Regions from separate parts of the Homo sapiens genome. Here all the other regions are linked to region 1. Evidence: promoter capture Hi-C in 16 types of primary human blood cells and fetal thymus (Javierre and others, 2016). All regions are on one chromosome and are shown on one strand. The core of a region is centred on a gene start or on the middle of the fragment in contact, and the rest is flanking DNA. Distances in the headings are between cores, read along the strand shown. Region 1 holds the start of SCGB1C1 (secretoglobin family 1C member 1). Region 2 has its middle 6.3 kb from the start of PKP3. Region 3 has its middle 20 kb from the start of IFITM3.

Region 1 (4,508 bases), core at 1,330-3,829:
GCTCAGACAGGACAGAGGTGTGGAGAGGAGGGCCGGGGCAGTGAAGTGTCAGGGCTCAGCACCCAGGGTGGCCAAGGATGGGGCGGTTCCACTCAGCTGTGCCCCCAGAAGAGACCATAGATTGGGCAGCTGAAATGCTGGAAGGTTCTGGCTGTGGGAGAGTCTGGGATCCAGGGTCAGGATCAGGGTCTGTGCTGGTTGTGGTGGGTGTGAGTCAGTGTGGGCGCTGGGGCTGCCCTGGCTGACCTCAGAGGCTGCTCACCTGCGGCTCCCAACCCCCTTGGACATGGGTGTACCTTTTTCTTGGCCTTGTCAGGGGTCCTCTTGGGGCTCGACACCAGCTTTCAGATGCTGAGCACCCCCGCCCTGACCTAGCCCATGGGCGACATGGGGTCTGTGTCCACCCAGTCCTGGACACTTCCTCTTTCTGGGGCTCCCACCTCATACCGCTGCCTCTGCCGCCCGTCTCCCTCCGGACGCCCCCTCCAGACGCCCCCTCCGGACGACCACGCAGTGTTGTCTGGCTCTGTGCTCTGTCCACCTGCCTACGTGGCGTCTGCCTGGATTTCCATTTTGGGTCTTGCCTGTGGTGTGCCTGCTCCTGTGTGGACCCTGTGTGTACCTCTGTGGGGACTTTCACACGTGTGTTCCTTGAGTGGGATCCTCTGTATGTGGGTCTGTGTGTGTGGCTGTGGCCCTGTGTTCCTGATGTCCCCATTTGTGTGTACCTCTGTGGGGACTTTCACACGTGTGTTCCTTGAGTGGGATCCTCTGTATGTGGGTCTGTGTGTGTGGCTGTGGCCCTGTGTTCCTGATGTCCCCATTTGTGTGTCCCTCTGTGGGGGACTTTCGCACGTGTGCTCCTTGAGTAGGATCCTCTGTATGTGGGTCTGTGTGTGTGGCTGTGGCCCTGTGTTCCTGATGTCCCCATTTGTGTGTCCCTCTGTGGGGACTTTCGCACGTGTGCTCCTTGAGTGGGATCCTCTGTATGTGGGTCTGTGTGTGTGGCTGTGGCCCCGAGTGTGTTCCTGATGTCCCCATTTGTGTGCCCCTCTGTGGGGGCAGAGACAGGAGCCTGAGCTGCGGAAGAGGCTTTATTGATTAAACGGTTTGAGGATACATTTCCATGTGGGAGGTGGTAGTGGGCGTTGTGTCCACGGCTGCTTGTGTGGCAGGTCCTATGGCTGAGCCATGTCTGAGGTCCACTTAGGCACCGTCCTGACTGCCCAGCACTTGCACCTGGAAGGCAGACACATGTGGACTAAGAGGGCTGTGCTCAATAAGTGGAGAGCCACAGCTCCATCAGGCAAGCAAGGCCCTCAGTGGGGGGGGGTCTGGCATATTGCTGCCTATCTCCTCCCAGCAGCTGGGAGGTGTGTGTGCACATGTGATGGTGTGCACACATGTATGTGTGTGCATATCCCAGTGTGAGCATGTGGGTGTGAACGTGTTTATACATGTGTGCACGCAGTGTACATTTCATGTCTGCACCTGTGTTTGGATCTCTGTGTATGTTCACATGTGTGCATGGAGGAGTATCCCACAGACTGGGGAGGAGGTCTATGGAGTCTGGGGGCTGCTCGGTGGACAGGAGGTCTGGGGTGTCCACCTGAGCTGGCTGATGCGGGTGCAATGTCTGTGGGTGGTGGATGTCTGTGGGTGGGGTAGGCTGTGTGGGTGCTGTGTTGGGTGGTCTTGGTAAGGCTGCAGATCTTTAGAAAATGGGGTGCCCGCCGCCCTCATACCAGCAGCTTGACCAGCTCCGCCTTGTGCATTGGCTGCAGGCCATCTATACAGGACTTGAGTTCAGTCATTGCTGCCTTGGCATCTTCGTTGACATTGTACTTGCCCAAGGTCCCCTCATAGAGCTCCTCTGGGGTCCCCACCAGTAGTGTTTGCAGGAAGTCCATGAAAAACTCATCGTTGTCCTCCCCTGTGGCCATCCCTGCATCACGAGCGAGATGATGCCAGGACAGGACAGGGTGACTCTGGTGCAACCACAGCCCTGGACCTGCCCCAGGGCTCCAACCTCCATGGTCTCCAGACCTTCCCCTTCAATGCCCACCTCTCCTCCCCAGGGCTTCCTCCACAACACCTCCAACTCCACCTTGCCCGAAGACCCCTCCACATCCCCCTTAATCTTAGCTGCTCCAATTTCCACTCAGCATTCCCTGGGATCACCAGGGAAGGAAAGTTAAGCTCCTGGTGTGGGGGAAATTTCCCCTGATGAGAGGCTATTATGACCAGAGGCTTGAAGGGTCAGGTCAGGCTGGACTGGGCTGGGGTAGGAGACACTGGGCTGGTGTTGGGTCAGCTGGGCTTTGTCCTTGGTTGGGGTGGAGTAGGGTGGGCGCGGGTTCTGCAGGGTCCTTGCCCACTTCTGTGACAGAAGCAGGTGGAGTGTTCACTGCAGAGGCCCGATGCCAGGATTTTACCTTCTCAGGTACCCCCCACTCCCCCCCACCCCTGAATGTTCTGGAAACCCCAGTGGCACAGACTCACGGCAGATGCAGAACAGGGTGAGGGCCACCAGCAGGAGGGCACGGCTCCCCTTCATGCCAGCAGTCTCAGGAGCTGCCTCCAGCCAGAATCCCGGGATTTTATGCCTCACCGGACAGCACCTCTCCTAGAGGGCGGACCGGACCTGCCCATTAGGACCCGGCAGCCAGCTTAGATGAGGTTTGTTCACATCCCTGGCCCCCAGTGGGTGCCAAGCAGCAACAGGCATGGAGTGGCTGTGTGACAGGTGGTTGGCAAGCGGCTTTAGGGTGTGTGAGAGAGAGAACAGGTGTGTTAGGAGGGAACACTGGTGAGAGGCCATGCCAACTGATCGGTGAAGAAGGCAGTGGGTCCTGGCCACCAAGGGCCTCTAGTCATGCCTGCCCTTGAGGCCGAGAGTGGTGGGATCTGGGGTTGGTCCCACGCCTTTCTTTTAAGGTGCGAATCCCTCCTCTTATCAGTGTGCTGTGTGATCTGGGTCTGCATCTGGGGGTCTCCAATCAGGCAGGGGCCCCTTACTACTCAGATGGGGTGGCCGAGTAGGGGAAGGGGGTGCAGGCTGCACGAGTGGACACAGCTGTAGGACTACCTGGGGGCTGTGGATCTATGGGGTGGGGAGAAGCCCAGTGACAGTGCCTAGAAGAGAGAAGGTGGCCTGAGAGGGTCTGAGGAACATAGAGCTGGCCATGTTGGGGCCAGGTCTCAGCAGGAAGTGAGGAATGGGACAGGCTTGAGGTACATCTTCCATCAGTAGCCAGGATAGCAAGGAGGGCTTGGGGTTGCTATCCTGGGGTTCAACCCCCCAGGTTGAAGGCCCTGGGGGAGATGGTCCCAGGACATATTACAATGGACACAGGAGGTTGGGACACCTGGAGTCACCAAACAAAACCATGCCAAGAGAGACCATGAGTAGGGGTGTCCCAGTCCAGCCCTCTGACTGAGCTGCATTGTTCAAATCCAAAGGGCCCCTGCTGCCACCTAGTGGCTGATGGCATCCACATGGCCCTGGGCCACACGCGTTTAGGGTCTCTGTGAAGACCAAGATCCTTGTTACATTGAACGACTCCTAAATGAGCAGAGATTTCCACCTATTCGAAACAATCACATAAAATCCCATCCTGGAAAAAGCCTGGGGGATGGCACTAAGGCTAGGGATAGGGTGGGATGAAGATTATAGTTACAGTAAGGGGTTTAGGGTTAGGGATCAACGTTGGTTAGGAGTCAGGGATACAGTAGGGTCACCGGTAAGGGTTAGGGGTTAGGGGTAGGGGTTAGGGTTAGGGTTAGGGTTAGGGGTTAGGGGTTAGGGTTAGGGTTAGGGTTAGGGTTAGGGGTTAGGGGTTAGGGTTAGGGTTAGGTTTTGGGGTGGCGTATTTTGGTCTTATACGCTGTGTTCCACTGGCAATGAAAAGAGTTCTTGTTTTTCCTTCAGCAATTTGTCATTTTTAAAAGAGTTTAGCAATTCTAACAGATATAGACCAGCTGTGCTATCTCATTGTGGTTTTCAATTGTAACCACATTGTGGTTTCAATGTGTTTACTTGCCATCTGTAGATCTTCTTTGGTGAGGTGTCTGTTCAGATGTGTGTGCATTTTTAGTTGGGCTGTTTAACTTATTGTTTAGTTTTAATAATTTTTTATATATTTTGAAGACAAATTCTTTCTCAGATGTGTATTTTGCAAATATTTTCTTCAATATGTGGCTTGTCTTTTTGTTCTCTTAACAAGGTCTCTTCCAGAGTATAAACTTTAAATATTAAGAAATCCACACTGTCACTTCTTTTGTGTATATCTACCTTTTGTGTCATTTGTTAAAATTCATTACCAAACCCAAAGGCAGATAGCTTTTCTTCTATTGTTTCTTCTAGAAATTGTATAGTTTTGCATTTTTAGTGTAAGGATGATTTTGAGTGATTATTTGTGTAAGTTGTAAAGTTTTCGTCTATATCCATATCATTTCTTATGGTTTCCAATTAATCGTTCCCTCACTATTTTTGGGAAAGACACAGG
Region 2 (4,508 bases), core at 861-3,360, 190 kb before region 1:
CTTGACCCCTACAATCCCTGGGGTTCCTGGATGGCAATGGTGGTCTGGACGACTGTAGCTGGGGAGAGGAGGCTGGGGACCCATCAGTCCTGCTGTACCATTTGGGAGACTGGCCCGAGGTCCGGCAACCCACGTCTCCAGGGATGGTCTGTCCTCCAGCGGTCCCCTGTGGGCGGAGGATGACCCAGGTGCCCAGGCAAGAGACTGAAGGCACAAACTGTTTCAGTATAATAAAGAAAATAGAATAAGAATAGTCATAATACAAATTAGATATAGAGATGCTCATGGACAATTATCAATCATTATTATAAACATTATTAGTCATTAGCTTTTAATATTACTCTTTGTTCCATTACTATATAACCTAGGAATAAGCGGTGGGTATAGGGTCAGGTGCTGAAGGGACGTTGTGAGAAGTGACCTAGAAGGCAAGAGGTGAGCCCTCTGTCACGCCAACATAAGGGCCGCTTGAGGGCTCCTTGGTCAAGCGGTAACGCGAGTGCCTGGGAAGGCACCCGTTCCTTAGCCGACCGCGAAAGGGAGTCTCCTTTCCTTGGAGAGGTCGGGGAACACTCTGCTCCACCAGCTTCTTGTGGGAGGCTGGATATTCTCCAGGCCTGGCCCGCAGTCATCCGGAGGCCTAACCCCCTCCCTGTGGTGCTTGAATGATCACACTCCTTGTCCACTTTCATGCTCCTCCCGTACTCCTGGTTCCTCTTTGAAGTTCGTAGTAGATAGCGGTAGAAGAAATAGTGAAAGTCTTAAAGTCTTTGATCGTTCTTATAACTGCATAGAAGACAACACTGATGTATGCTGCCTTTCCTCTCTACTTCGGCTACCTAAGAGGGAAGGGTCACCGTAAGGTGACTTGCTTCACCTTATCACTTAGAAGATTCACCCTCCTTATCCTGCCCCCTTGTCTTGTATGCAATAAATATCAGCGCGCCCAGCCGTTCAGGGCACTACTGGTCTCCGCGTCTTGATGGTAGTGGTCCCCCAGGCCCAGCTGCTTTCTCTTTATCTCTTTGTCTTGTGCCTTTATTTATTACAATCTCTGGTCTCCGCACATGGGGAGAACACCCACTAAGCCCCGTAGGGCTGGACCCTACAGTCCCCAAGGCAAACTGGACAGGGTCAAGGTGGCCTCCCTGCACTGTCTGGAAAGCCCCTCCTGAAGGACCCTCCTCCCTGCACTGTCTGGAAAGCCCCTCCTGAAGGACCCTCCTCCCAGGACTGTCTGGAAAGCCTCCTGAAGGACCCTCCTCCCTGCACTGTGTGGAAACCCTCCTGAAGGACCCTCCTCCCTGCACTGTGTGGAAACCCTCCTGAAGGACCCTCCTCCCTGCACTGTGTGGAAACCCTCATGAAGGACCCTCCTCCCTGCACTGTCTGGAAACCCTCCTGTGGGGCCCTAGCCCAACACATTTGCAGCAGTCACAGGTGTATCTAGGGATCCTGGGGTCCATGAGCCCACAGGGCAGCTGTTAAGAGCCTTTGCCTTCTTCCTATATCTCCTCTCTCTTTTCTGGACTTCCTCCCGGTTCCCACTGGAAAAAACTGAGGTGGCCCCTCCCAGGATGCCCCCAAAGTACCATCTGGTCCCACAGCCCATTCCCGCATCCTCCTTCTGACATCAGGGGCCGCCTGTGCAATGAACTCATCTCCTCATCCCCTAGGACCAGCCGTTCATTGACTGAGTCAGGAGACAGAGAGGCACACTTCACCAAGGCCCCTGCCATCCCCCAGGAAGGCAGTGGGGCCAATCCCTGCTCTACCATGGACAGCCTGGTGCAATCAAGAGGCCCAGCCCCTTTCTCTCATAAGCCCTCCAGCCAAGTGCAATGAGAAGCCCAGTCCCATTCCCTCACAAGCCCTCCAGTATCACATCTGAAAGTGTTTCATCCTCCATTCTCCCATTTTATCACTGGGGTCCCATTTAGGGTCCTCCAATGGTACTGCTATTCATCCAATTGGATAAAGCTTCTCTTCTTCCCTGGCCCTATATAAGATATACAGCTCATCCCCCAAATTCTCTGCCGCTTGCGGGGTGGCCTGCTTTTCAGCAGTCAGGGTTTGATTCAGAAGTAACATGATATCCTTCCAGGAGAGCTCAAATACTTGGGTTAAGTTCTGGAAAGCCTCCATGTATCTGTCAGGGCCATCTGAAAACTTGCCAAGATCCCCCTTAATTTGACTCAGAATGGCCTAAAATGAGGATTTCTAGGCTGGGGAAAGCTTGAGAGAGAACCTGAGTAGGGAGGAGTGAAGGGTTTGATTCCTCCACTGGAGGTGCCTCTGGGGTTTGCTTCTCTATTTCCCTGGGATTGCCTCTTGCAGCCTCTCCTGAGATGGCCACCAGGAGGGCTGGATCAATCCTACAGTAGAGGCAAAGGTCCAAGTTACCCTGCAAGGCAAAGAAAGCCTGCACACACGAGGCCTGGGATCACTGGCCCTCACATTTACAGAAAAGCTTCCTCCCAAGACCATGCTTCCCTTCTGTGTCTTACACTTACAGAAAAGCTTCCTTCCTGAGACCATGCTTCTCTTCTGGGTCTCACGTTTACAGAAAAGCTTCCTTCCTGAGACCATGCTTCTTTTCTGGGTCTCAAGGTGCTTGGCACCAAGTTGGCGGCCAAGGAAATAACAAGAACATTTTTGCCACAAATTTACATACAGATACCAAGGCACACTTTACTTCGTCTGTGCTATTCTTAACCTTCCATTTTATAGTTTTGATGACTCAGTCAAATGCTCATTCTACCCAGTAATATTTCTGGTTTGCAACAACATCCTTAACATTTAACATTGTACATAAAGAAGAGATAGGAACCATGACAGCCACAAAAGAAAGACAGAAAAGAATGATAGGAAAGAGTGGAGGTCTTTGTGCCAACACCCTCATGGGAGGCTGGGGACTGGAGTCAGTCCAGGGGCCTTTGGATAACTCCAAGGGGTAACCTCAGCCAAATACCCCCAGTTGCTCTAGGACCTCCTTCTGGTCCCACGTGACAGCTAGACCTCCATGAAGGAAAACTGGGTTGGAACAAAGCCAACATTCCCAATACCTGAGGGTGATGGGGGCTTGACAGTGTCCTCCCCAGCAAGCCTGGCCTCCATGTGTTGAGTCTGGTGCTTGGAGACTAGTCGTCACTTTTAACTAATTGACAGAGGCCTGGTATTTTTCTTTCATTTTAGCTGTTGAGTTTAAGGACCACGAAGAAAGGACAGAAAGAGAAGATCCACTTTTACTTACCCTTGTGCAGATCCCAGACGAGCCCCCAAACATGTTGTGGGATATTTGGGGTGTTGCTTTTCTGGCCAGAAACCTCTGTGGCCAGGAGCACCTTTGCCTGAGTTCTTGTCCTGTGTCCAGGAAGAATGAGGTACACAGACAAGTGGAGGGTGAGCAAGACGAAGAGGAGCTTTATTAAGTGTCAGAACGGCTCAGAGGCTCTCAGCAGAGAGGAGGCTGGGAGTGAGTGGCTCCTCTCTGCAGGAAGGTCGTCCCAACGAGTGTTCAGCTCTCAGCAGAGAGGGCAGCTCCTCTCTGCAGTTGGTCGACCCAATGCCTGCAGCTATCAGCAGAGAGGGTAACTCCTCTCTGCAGTTGGTTGACCCAAGGCCTGCAATGCTCAGCAAAGAGGAGGCCCTAGTGAGGGTAGCTCCTTTCTGCAGCTGGTCATCCCGTCGTCTCTCTGTCCTCTTCTCCACTCTGGCTGAACCCAGGGCTTTTATGGGCCTCAGAGGGGAGGAAATTCATGCCAACTGGTGCATGGGCAGCCATGGGTGGGCCCGGAAAAGGCACCACAAGTCCCCACTGTGGTCCTCAGGACTGTCAGCCTGGCCCCCAGCCTTCAGGCCCACCCTGGCTTGAAGGTGGAGCCTCACCAGGGACCTGCCCATTCCCTCCCAGGAGCCTGTCTGCCTCCCACTGCCGCCCATGGTGCCCAGGCCGCTCGTGCCAAGGGGTGCCCACAGGCCAGCACTGAGCTGCCCCCAGCTCCATCTTGGCCTCCCTCCCACACTCATTGGTGCCCAAAGTCTGGAGGGGCTGAGGTGGCAGGGGACTGGCATCTCGGCACTGCTCTGAGGGTGCACACCCGGCTGGGCTGCAACAACACCCGGGCTTGGCCCCGACCCCACTCCAAGATCAGAGTGGGCGCCAGGAGCAGGGACACCCCCAAGCCTGTGGTGTTAGGGGGTCCTCCCTGGCCCCCAAGACCACCAGGAGGCCTGGGTCCACACAGCAGCAACCTGGCTGGCTGCAGCTGCCCCCGTGGTGCTCCCGCCCTGCCAACCCTGCACAAATAAACCCACTGCTCCCAGGGCTGGTTCCACGAGACCCGGCTGTGCCTTCAGCTGGGTGCTCACGGGCTCCCGGGACACGGCAGGAAGCGAGGTTGAGGTGGCTGTGGGGGTTCCAGGCCTGGGAGTGGGTCTTGCCCGGCTGTGGGGGTTCCAGGCCTGGGAGTGGGTCTTGCCCGGCTGTGGGGGTTCCAGGCCTGGGA
Region 3 (4,508 bases), core at 1,465-3,964, 150 kb before region 1:
TGCCGGGCTGGTCTCGAACTCCTGAGCTCAAGTGATCCATCTGCCTCAGCCTCCCAAAGTGCTGGGATTACAGGCGAGAACCTCCATGCCCAGATGATTTTTTGATTGGCATGCACAGGCTGCTAAAAGACTAAATGAATCCCAAGTTGTCTCTCTAAAAGACTCCATAGAAAAAGGCAAATAGAAAACCAAAGCAGTTAATTGACAATGAAAAAGGGCATGTCTACTGACTCAGCACAGATGAGCCCTTCTCTCTTTCTCTCCATCTTGCTCTGCCAGATTGCTCTGAACTACTCACTTTTTTGCTCAGTAACTTTTATACCCCAGAGGCAAAAAGAAAGTTAGCCAAACTTTCATCGTGTTAGGCCTTTAGATCAACCAGGCCTTCCTTCTTTAACCACATTGACATCTTGATTAAAATCTGAGCTCAGAACAATAGTGAAAGGTTTCCCTGTCCCAGAAATTTGCTGATGATGTAGAATTATATCCTGGCCTATTCATGCTAACTCCAGGCATGGAAAATGCTTGCCAGTTCATCAGTAGGCGCCACCCTGAACTCAGTGATGGAGTTAAAAAGCATAAACTGGGCTGAGAAGCCTCTGATCTAGCCAACGTAGGCCCCAAATGTGCTACTCTGGCATAAAGATTATTTTGATCCAATTCTTTTGAGACCCTTTGTAAGAAAAATTTAATTCTATAAAGGAGATAGAAGTGGTGGCTCATGCCTATAATGCCAGCACTTTGGGAGGCTGAGGGAGGAGGGTTGCTTGAGCCCAGGAGTTCAAGACCAGCCTGGGTGACATAGTAAGAGTCGGTGTATTAGTCCCTTCTCTCATTGCTGTAAAGAACTATCTGAGTCTGGGTAATTTATACAGAAAAGAGGTTTAGGCTGGGTGTGGTGGCTCATGCCTTAATCACAGCACTTTGGGAGGCTGAGGCAGGTTGAGGTCAGGAGTTTGAGACCAGCCTGGCCAACATGGTGAAACCCCATCTCTACTAAAAATACAAAAATTAGCCAGGTATGGTGGCGTGCACCTGTAATCCCAGCTACTCAGCTGGCTAAGGCAGGACAATTGCTTCAGTCTGGGAGGTGGACGTTGTAGTGAGCTGAGATCGCGCCACTGCACTCCAGCCTGGGTGACACAGCAAGACTGTGTCTCAAAAAAAAAAAAGGCAAAAGAAAAGAGGACACATGGCTGGGGAGGCCTCAGGAAAGTTACAATCATGGCAGAAGGTGAAGAGGAAGGGGGCACGTCTTGCATGGCTGGAGCAGGAGGAAGAGACAGAAGGGGGAGGTGCCACACACTTTTAAACAACCAGATCTCATGAGAACTCACTATCCTGAGAACAGCAAGGGGTAAGTCTGCCCCCATGATCCAATCACCTCCCACCAGGCTCCTCCTCCAACACTGAGGATTACAATTTGACATGAGATTTGGGTGGGGACACAAATCCAAACCCTCTCACCCCATCTTTACAAAGAAATTTAACCAACAGTTTGAGGTTGCAGTGAGCTATGATCGCACCACTGCACTCCAGCCGGGTTGTAAAATAAGACTCTGTCTCAAAACAAAACAAAACAAAACAAAGTAAACAACAAAAAAAAAGAATGGAGAAAGCATTGATTTAAATCTACATCACAAAACTTACCTTTACTTAGCGTGCATTTCTGACCCCCATCTTGGCTTAATTAGCGCTTTGCTTGCTTTCTCTCTCTTTTTTCTTTTCTTTTCTTTCCTTTCCTTTTCCTTCCTTCCTTTCTTTCTCATTCCTTCCTTCTTCCCTTCCCTTTCCTTCCTTTCTTCCTTCCCTCCTTCCTCCTCTTTCCTTTTCCTTCCTTCCTTTTCTTTTTCTTTCTTTCTTTTTTCTTTCTTTCCTTCCTTCCTTCTTTCCTTGTTCTTGCTTTTTTCTTTCTTCTTTCCTTCCCTTCCCTTCCCTTCCCTCCCTTCCTTCCTTCTTTCTTTCCTTGTTCTTGCTTGCTTGCTTTTTTCTTTCTTTCCTTTCCTTCCCTTCCCTTCCCATCCCTTCCCCTTCCTTCCTTCCTTCCTTCTTTCTCCTTCTCTTTTTTTCTCTTCCTTTCTTTCTTTTCTCTTTCTCTTTCTTTTTTTCATTTCTTTCTTTTTTTCTCTTCTTCAAATGAAGATATTTAAGGCTGAAGTCTAAGTTCTGTGCCTTTGAGATGTAAATTTTCTACTCTGCTCAAACACCTGAGGGTTATCTCTTTGATATGCAAATTTTGGGAAGCCATCTTATGAGAAAAGAAAAAAAAAGAGCTATATGGAAATTGGGCAAATGAAAAACCTTAAGTCTTTCCCGCAAATATTAATAAAAGCTTTAATCATCTGGCAAGTAATTTTGACTTGTTCCATGTGCCAGAAACAAGATTTGAAGCCTATTGTTCTTGTATTAAACAGTGTGTTTTGTATTACTGTGCTTGGCATGTGGCTAAGATTTTAGAATGAAGCTGTAACACTCTAGTGTCTGAAGAGTGTGAAAAAAAAAAAGAAAGCTATATGATCTGCTTCTGTCTGTATGTTTATGTATGTCTATGTATACATGTACACGTGACATTTTCCTACTCTAGATTGCGTTGCCAAAATTAATTTATAAAAAAGTGGTATTTAATTGGCTTAAAGAAAAATATGAGCTTATATAAGTTGAGTTATCCTTAAACTCTTAGAAATATAGAAACTAACCCAAATGTTTTTTAAATTTCATGTCATCTGAGATTATAGTTGGTAAATAAATGCTATTTAAACTTTTCTGGTTTAATGAAATATTTAGAGTTGTCAGCATTAAATAAAACGCAGACACACAACTTTGGTTTTACCTAGGTTTATTAGGCAAAAACTTATGTTATCTCTGTTACAAGAGTTGCCACCAAGAAAAGCAATTTGATGATGTCTAGCCTTGTCTGCTGTTATGAAACATCTACTTAAAAGCAGCTTGCCGATTCTCTTTGGTAGCTTGCACTGTTAGAGTCAAGTTAAATTAAATGATGGTTATTCATCGACTATCTAGAAAGATATTTTTTAAACCTTATTTTTTTTGAATAACATAAAATACTGAAACTTTGATTGCTAAACATAAGCTTGTCTACTTTTGGCTTCTTATTATAGAAGTACTAAACATACTTGTCTCTGCCAGCAAACACATCCTGTGCCATATTGAAAAATTGTATGATAAAGAAACACACACTTCTAGAAATTATGACATGGTATATTCACAGATTTGCCAATCTGCAGAATGTTGGTATGTATGCAAAAAGTTGACAAGTGTTTACTTGCTAGTTTTCACTAGAAACCAAGGTTAATAGCTGGTGTGGTGGCTCATGCTTGTAATCCCAACACTTTGGGAGGCTGAGGTGGGAGGATCACTTGAGCCAAGAGTTCCAGACCAGCCCATCTCTACCAAAAATAAAAATTAGCTGGGCTGGGTGTGGTAGCTCACGCCTGTAATCATAGCACTTTGGGAGGCTGAGGTGGGTGGATCACGAGGTCAAGAGATTGAGACCATCCTGGCCAACATGGTGAAACCCCATCTCTACTAAAAATACAAAAATTAGCTGAGCATGGTGGTGGACACCTGTAGTCCCAGCTACTCGGGAGGCTGAGGCAGGGGAATCACTTGAACCCGGGAGGCGGAGGTTGCAGTGAGCCAAGATCGCGCCACTGCACTCCAGCCTGGGTGACAGAGTGAGACTCCTCTCAAAAAAAAAAAAAAAAAAAAAAAGCTGGGCATGGTGGCACATGCCTGTGGTCCCAGCAACTTGGGAGACTAAGGTGGGAAGATCACTTGAGCTTGGGAGGTTGAGGCTGCAGTGAGCTGTGATAGCACCACTGCACTCCAGTCTGGGCAACAGAAGAAGGCCCTGACTCAAAAAAAAAAAAAAAAAAAAAAAAGATAAGAAAAGCTTTTAAAGTTACTAAGTGTTTAGAATTCTAATTATATGGTAATTAAAATTACGAGAAATAATAAGGGAAGCAGCTCTGTATGCAGAATATACAAACAAAGGAAGGCGAATTTTGGGTAAGGAAAGTTATAAGAGGCTGGTTGTGGTGGCTCAAGCCTGTCATCCCAGCACTTTGGGAGGCTGAGGGGGGCGGATCACCTGAGGTCAGGAGTTCGAGACCAGCCTGGCCAACATGGTGAAAGCCCATCCCTACTACAAATACAAAAATTAGCCGAATGTGGTGGTGCACGCCTGTAATCCCAGCTACTTGGGAGGCTGAGGGGGAAGAATTGCTTGAACCCGGGAGGTGGAAGTTGCAGTGAGCAGAGATTGCAAGACTCAGTCTCAAAAAACAAAAAAAAATTATAAGGTATGAAGGTGTGCTTTTTTTTTTTTTTTTGAGACAGAGTCTTGCTCTGTCGCCCAGGCTGGAGTGCAGTGGCACAATCTCTGCTCACTGCAAGCTCTAAGTCCAATTAAACTCTTTCTTTTGTAAATTGCTCAGTCTTTATTGGCAGCATGAAAATGGACTAATACAGTATTGCAGGAAAAGTCT

What was found. Contacts are between HindIII fragments. The CHiCAGO score rates a contact against its expected background, and 5 or more counts as called.
Region 2: a contact is called between a fragment that was not itself captured here and the fragment with the promoter of SCGB1C1 in region 1, in 4 of 17 cell types (endothelial precursors, naive B cells, M1 macrophages and 1 more). The highest score is 6.2, in endothelial precursors.
Region 3: a fragment that was not itself captured here is called in contact with the fragment with the promoter of SCGB1C1 in region 1 in 2 of 17 cell types (M0 macrophages and M1 macrophages); the score reaches 6.1 in M0 macrophages.

The regions. Positions count from the first base shown.
Region 1 is chr11:191,149-195,656 of GRCh38, reverse strand. It overlaps SCGB1C1 (secretoglobin family 1C member 1), which reads right to left and starts at 2,579. Exons shown (of 3, transcript NM_145651.3): 1 at 2,503-2,579; 2 at 1,746-1,945; 3 at 1,082-1,239. The coding sequence starts at 2,557. The coding sequence ends at 1,207. The HindIII fragment of the contact is 15,974 bases long and covers 1-4,508 here.
Region 2 is chr11:385,606-390,113 of GRCh38, reverse strand. No RefSeq gene overlaps it. Among named protein-coding and RNA genes, the nearest start is that of PKP3, 6.3 kb to the left of the region's middle. The HindIII fragment of the contact is 255 bases long and covers 1,983-2,237 here.
Region 3 is chr11:338,444-342,951 of GRCh38, reverse strand. No RefSeq gene overlaps it. Among named protein-coding and RNA genes, the nearest start is that of IFITM3, 20 kb to the right of the region's middle. The HindIII fragment of the contact is 759 bases long and covers 2,335-3,093 here.